2 separate regions of the Homo sapiens genome follow, and region 1 is linked to region 2. The links are contacts of gene promoters, found by promoter capture Hi-C in human tissues and cell types (Jung and others, 2019). All regions are on one chromosome and are shown on one strand. The core of a region is centred on a gene start or on the middle of the fragment in contact, and the rest is flanking DNA. Distances in the headings are between cores, read along the strand shown. Region 1 has its middle 44 kb from the start of LINC00910. Region 2 holds the start of DHX8 (DEAH-box helicase 8).

What was found. The method cuts DNA at HindIII sites, captures the fragments that hold promoters and counts their contacts. A contact is called where the count stands out against the background at its distance.
Region 1: a contact is called between a fragment that was not itself captured here and the fragment with the promoter of DHX8 in region 2, in 1 of the 25 tissues and cell types used here (bladder).

What each region holds. Positions count from the first base shown.
Region 1 is chr17:43,343,286-43,346,691 of GRCh38, forward strand. No RefSeq gene overlaps it. Among named protein-coding and RNA genes, the nearest start is that of LINC00910, 44 kb to the right of the region's middle. The HindIII fragment of the contact is 8,528 bases long and covers 1-3,406 here.
Region 2 is chr17:43,482,286-43,485,752 of GRCh38, forward strand. It overlaps DHX8 (DEAH-box helicase 8), which reads left to right and starts at 1,690. Exons shown (of 23, transcript NM_004941.3): 1 at 1,690-1,900. The coding sequence starts at 1,753. RefSeq lists enhancers at 1,383-2,225, 1,525-1,954. The HindIII fragment of the contact is 21,666 bases long and covers 1-3,467 here.

The DNA.
Region 1 (3,406 bases), core at 784-3,283, 140 kb before region 2:
TTTTCTGGAGCGATAACCAAACCAGCTGCTGCAACTGCTTGTTGTACTGCAGAGAAACAAGATATTAATACAGAGCGTGAAGGTGCTGCACAAAGAATATCATCCATGTAATGAATGACATAACATTGGGGAAACTGATCTCTTACTGGCTTTAGTATGGTCCCCACATAATATTGACAAATAGTAGAGTTATTAAGCATACCTTGAGGTAGGACTTTCCAATGGTAATGTGCTGCAGGAGGGATGTTGTTAAGGGTTGGAACTGTGAAAGCAAATTTTTCAAAGTCCTGAGGGGCCAGAGGAATGTAAAACAAGCAATCTTTAAGGTCAATGATGATAAGTGGCCAATACTTGGGAATCATAGTGGGGGAGGGCAAACCAGGCTGTAATGTCCCCATAGGTTGAAGGACAGCATTTGCTGCCCTAAGATCAGTAAGCATTCTCCACTTACCAGACCTCTTTTGGATAACAAAGGCAGGTGAATTCCAGGGAGAAAAAGAGGGTTTGACCCAATTTTAACTGTTCAAGAACCAAAATATGAAGTGCCTCCAGCTTATTTTTTGGGAGCAGCCACTGATCTACCCAAACCAGTTTCTGAGTTTTCCAAGTCAAAGGGATGGGATCTGGAGACTTGATAGTGACCACTTCTAAAAAGAATAACCAAGTCCTGTAGAATCTGGTTTATGGGTAGGTATAATAGGCTCGGTGATGCCTTGTGCTGATTTTCCCAAGCCCATATCTTGAACAAATCCCATTTTTGTCATAATGTCTTTACTTTGCTGGCTGTAACTGCCTTGTGGAAAAGAAATCTATGTCCCCCATTGATATAAAAGATCTTTTCCCCACAGGTTAACAGGAATGGGTGTAATGAGGGGGCAGATAGTTCCCATTTGTCCTTCAGGGCCCATGCAATGTAAAATTGTGGAGCTTGCATATACTTCTGAAGCGTCACCAACACCAACTAATGCTGTGGACATATGCTCCTTTAGCCAGTGTTGGGGCCATTGATGTAAAGCAATAATAGAAACATCAGCACCCGTATCAATCATTCCCTCAAACTTCCTCCCTTGAATATGCACAGAGCACACAGGATGAGTGTCAGAAATTTTGCTGGCCCAATAAGCCACTTTGCCTTGATAATCTGTGCTACCAAAATCTCTGTTTCTCATACAAGAACTGGATCCTAAAGGAATGTAAGGGAGTATCAGAAGTTGAGCAATGCCGTCCCCAGCTGCCACATTCCAAGGGACTGCAGAGCTAATGACAATATGAATTTCACCTGAATAGTCAGAATCAATTACACCAGTATGTACTTGAGCACCTTTTAAATTTAGACTTGAATGACCAAGTAGCAAACTGACACTGCCAGTCAGTAAGGGACCAAAAACACCTCTAGGAACAGCAATAGGCAGCTATCCAAGCAACAGAGAAATGTCTCTGGTACAAGAGAGATCTATTGCTGCTGAGCCTGCAGTGGCAGGAGACAAACACTGTACTGAGATTCCTGCTGGGGCTGGGCCATTAGATCCTGTGGCACAAATTGCTGAAGTGGGAATTGGGGTGGAGGTTGAATCGATTGGACTGGGAAGGCACCCATCTGGCTGGATGCCAGGGGCTGGGAGTTGAGGAATGCGCCATTGTTTAGAGGGGCCTGGGGCCAGCCCCTCGTTCCATTTCCCTGGTTGTTAAGCGACTGTAAAGGATTACCATCAATATCAAATCTCGAATGGCATTGAGCAGCTCAGTGATTTATCTTTTGGCATCGTGGGCATAAAGTAGAAGGTGGGACTTTCTGTTGTTGAAAAATTTTTTGTTGTTGGTGGTGGTGGGGTTGAAAAGAATGGCAACATGTACACTGGGGACAATTTCTTTTAGCATGTCCTGTCTGGCCGCATATAAAGCATTGGCCAGTGAATTGTCCAGGCGTTCGAATAGAGGCCATGGCTTGTGCCATGATCATTGCTGTGTGCAGAGTTCCTCCCACACCTTCACAGGCTTTAATGTAGGAGGTGAGTATATCACACACACACACACACACACCCATGGAATTTTACCTTTAACAGGGCGAATAGCCACCTGACAATCTGGATTTGCTTGTTCATAAGCCATGAGTTCTACAACAAGTCAATGGCCGTGGCTCAGGGATAGCTTTTTCTGCTGCGTCTTGGAGATGGGCAATAAAGTCTGGGTAGGGTTCATGTTGTCCCTGTCTGACTGCCGCAAACGATGGGCATACTTTGCCATCATCTTGAATCTTTTCCCAAGCATCTAAGCAACATTTCCACAGTTGTTCAATAACCACATCATTTACTATAGTTTGGTTTCTAATTGTAGCCCACTGACCCATTCCCAGTAACTGGTCAGCTGTAACGTTAACAGGAGGATTGGAGCCCTGATTAAGATGAATGTGTTCCTGGACAGCATCAACCCACCAAGTCCTGAATTGTAAATATTGGGATTTAGATAAGACTGACTTTCAGTCAAGTGAGCATTTTTTAAGAACACGTTGTACTGAGAACCACTTAAGCATTGAATGCGGAGAAAGCAGTGCTACCTCAGTTTTGCTGGAAGTAGACTTCTTTGATAGTTTTCTTTCTTTGATGAAGTTTCTGTATTTTCATGTTGTAAGTGGAAATACTTTTTTTTGTTTGTTTGTTTCATTTGCCTTGGAGCCAAAGTTTCTGTTCCTGGTGGTCGGGAAACTGCCTGCCGGCCAACTGACTTGAAGGAAAACTGTGGTATGGAGCTCTGCTTGAATTTTTTTTTTTTTAATATTTTTATTTTTTTCTTTGAATATCATCAGCTTACTTGTCTGGCAAGGGCAGAAGCCTGGGGTTGGCCTGAACTCTGCCAAACAAATATCAAAGTGTATTTAATAGTTAAATTTGTGCCCTTTCCCTTCTTGCTGCACCCATGTTGTCACTTAACCCCCAGGAGTTATTTATTATCTTTTTGTCAAAGTCAGGCTCATTTGGGGTAATGTGATGACTGTTTAGGTTTACATGACCCTCCTCTCCTTTCCCTACCCCCAAATATGTATATATACATATATAAAATATGTATATATTTTACCTATATAAAATATATATATATACACATATATGTATCTATATTCCTTTGTTTCTTTGCCTGCTTATACTGGCCATAAAAGAGGGAGCTGCCTTCAATGTATAAAGTATAAGAAGAGTGCCAGGGAATGCCATAATGGAGGTTTTTGGATCTGAATTTGGACCATTTCACTAAAGAGAACATGAGTTTGCTCAACCCTTTCCTCACAAGAGGGAGGGCCCCGGTTCCCCAGACTTCTCCACGCACTGGCTCCATAAAGGCCAGCTTTGGCCAGGCTGCCACAGGGGCCTGAGGAGCTCACTCTGGGCCTACCTGGTTTCAGTTAGAGGGTCCTCCT
Region 2 (3,467 bases), core at 440-2,939:
GTCCAAAGGTACACCAGTGTAAAAATGTTGCCAAAGTGAAAAGTGGGAGACTGATTTCCTCCTTCCGATTGATTGGAGAGCCATTCACTTTAGGGTGCTTCTGTTTCCTTACTCATCACACAGAGCACTGGAGTGTGGGAAAAATCCCCATCCCACATTAAGGTTGCCACAAAGGTAAAAAAGACCTGAAGCAGAAGTTGGGAGACCTGAGCTTATGACCTTGGACTTACAGCACAGCTGATATTTGGGGGAATAAGGTTTGTTGTTGTTTTTGTGTGTGTGTTTTGTTTGTTTGAGACGGAGTCTCACTCTGTCGCACAGGCTAGAGTGCAGTGGCGAGATCTCAGCTCACTGCAACATCCACCTCCCAGGTTCAAGCAATTCTCCCGCCTCAGCCTCCCTAGTAGCTGGGACTACAGGCACATACCATCACGCCCAGCTAATTTTTGTATTTTTAGTACAGACGAGGTTTCACCATGTTGGCCAGAGTGGTCTTGAACTCCTGACCTCAAGTGATCCGCCCGTCTCGGCCTCCCAAAGTGCTGGGATTACAGGGGTGAGCCACAGTGCCCAGCCCCTGGGGGAATAAGTTCTGAGAGGACACAGGAAAACTGGGGATTGAAAAGCAGGTTTTCACAAGAGTGGAGGCAGCTGGCTCTGTGGGTTCCCAGACTAAGGGGATCTGTGCTTGACAGACCAGAGGCCAGTTCTGTGACCATCATCTCAGCCTTGAATTTTTTTTTTTTTTTTTTTGAGACAAAGTCTCACTCTGTCGCCCATGCTGGAGTGTAGTGGTGTGAACTCAGGTCACTCCAACCTCTGCCTCCTGGGTTCAAGCGATTCTTGTGCCTCAGCCTCCCGAGTAGCTGGGACTACAGGCGCCCACCACCACCACGCCCGGCTAAGTTTTCTATTTTTAGTAGAGATGGAGTTTCGCCACGTTGGCCAGGCTGGTCTGGAACTCCTGACCTCAAGTGATCCACCAGCCTCGGCCTCCCAAAGTGCTGGCATTACAGGCGTGAGCCACTGCACCCGGCCTAGCCTTGTGATATTAACAGTAACTGTCATTTGCGGTGTGCCTACTCTGTGTCACACTCCTTGCAGTTATTCCATTTAGGGTAGAGCAACATTATTCTAGTTTACAGATGAGAAAACTAAGGCCCCAGAGATTGATTTGCCCAAGCAGCCAGCTGGCAGTGGAAGTGCCAGTTTCTTCGTGTGTAAAACAAGAGAAGGCAATCTACTGCCTACTGGCTTGTCAAGGGTCACTTGAGATCGGACGACAGGAACCACAAAGAAGTGAGGCCGGGAATTTGCGGATCCACAGTAAAGCAAGTTTGTCTTTTTCCAGACGTGCATTAAGATTCCTTTTTCAAGTGTTCTAAAGCGCAGGCGCAGGCTGTTTTGCGGTTGCCTCCCGGCGCCTCTTGTGCAGGCCGGGGTCGCCCTCTGCCGACCCAGGGCGGGAGCGCGCTGAGTGAACGTTTCCAGGCCTGAGGGCGGGCGGAGATTTTTCTCGCCTGTAGAGGGCGCAGATCGGCGTGCAGAGTAACCCACTCTAGTTGTCCCTTCCTTAAGCACTTCCTGTTTGATCTCTATGATCCATCCTGTTGGGACTTGATTCGTTCCTCAAATTTTCAATTTACCGTAAACAAAGGGGACGCGCGCTGACCCGGAAGTGAAAGCTGGAACCCGGCCGGAGTAGCTCTGAGCGCCGGCTGTGAGGAAGGAGGTTCTGGGCAAGCTATAGCCATGGCTGTGGCTGTAGCCATGGCGGGAGCCTTAATCGGGTCGGAGCCAGGCCCCGCGGAAGAACTTGCCAAACTCGAGTACCTGTCTTTGGTGTCAAAGGTTTGCACTGAGCTGGACAATCACTTGGGGATCAACGACAAGGACCTTGGTGAGCTCGGGGAGGTCCCTGGGACCTCAGTTTGGGATTGAGGGAAGCGGAAGGAGGAAGGAGGAAGGAGAAAGGTGGTTGATGGACCGAAAGTATGTTCGTGTGAATCTGTCTCTCTCTGTCGCAGACACCGGTGCCCAGGGTACACGCTGCCGTGGCCTCGGCTTGAGAGCCCTCGAGAAACTTTAGAAACTTTCCCAGAGCTGTCAGTGAAGCCCGGGGCGGTCATCTCTGCTTGATTGTTTTTTGTTTGTTTTTTCAGCCTCAATTAAACATGTTTAACAACAACAGCAGCAGATGCTGCGATGACGACGATGATGGCTGACGTTTATTGGGTGCTCACTATGTGCTAGATGCGATGCTCAGCTCTTTATTGACATTATTTTATTTGGTCTTCACGCCACTCTGTGACATAGTAGTTAGCGTCTGTGCTTTTAACTGTGTTCTTTGACCGTTCATCCTGTACTCTTTTTTGAGGCAGGGCCTCGCTCTGTTTCCCGGGCTGGAGTGCAGTGGCACGATCTCGGCTCACTGCAGCCTCCACCTCCTGGGCTCAAGCAGTCCTCCCACCTCAGCCTCCCGAGTAGCTGGGACTACAGGCGGGCGCCACCAAGCTCGACTCATTTTTAAATTTTTTGTAGAGACGGGGGTCTCACTGTATTGCCCAGGCTGGTCTCGAACTTCTGGGCTCAAGCAGTCCTCTTCCCTCGGCCTCCCAAAGTGTTGGGATTACAGGCGTGAGCCATTGCGTCCTGTACTATGTCTTAAACACCAGTCACTAGATGTTTTGGGGCAAACTACATCTGGGGAGCCGAAACTGAGGAATTAGAAAAGGCTAGGGTCCTAAAGCTAAAGCCATAGACAGATGGAGCCTTTATGAAGGTACAGAGGATGGATGGGATCAAGGGCAACCAATGGATGGATTGACCTTTGGTACGTACAGCAAGGCTTCTTCAGTTGTAACAGGAGCGAGGACAGAGAATACAGTTGCAGATTCAGATGAGTTTAGAGATTGGTGGTGGGAAGATGAGTGAGAGAGTTCCAGCCCACTCTTCAGTTTCCTAAATGAAGATAAAGTCATCAACCGGAGGGATGGAAGGGAAGGGGCAGGTGACAGGAGGGGTTAGGGAAGTTAGACGAGTGACCTTTGGTAAGATTCATAGTTTCTCTGAAGCTGTTTTTCTCATCTGTGAAGTGGGACGATGTCTTCACAGGGTCACCATATAGCATTTAGGAAGATGCCCTGCAGCCAGTATATTTTAGTTTACTTTTTTCTCTTGCCTCCCAGCCAAGATGTGTCTGTCCTATATAACTTTTCCCGCAGGATTCTTCTCTTTTAGTTGATAATGAGGTGATAATTTCGTCGGTTTTGCTATCTCGTTAATATGTTTCCTTTATTCAGCAAATATTGAGCTGGGGGCTAGGCATACCACAGAGAACAAGACAGATTTCTGCTTTCAGGGAGCTTACCTTTCTCTCTGTTTTCATTTTAACTCCTAATACCTTGGCCTTTTAGAAGAAACAAAAAAGTTATTGACATTAACCCCCAGTGTTTAATTGTTTTGAT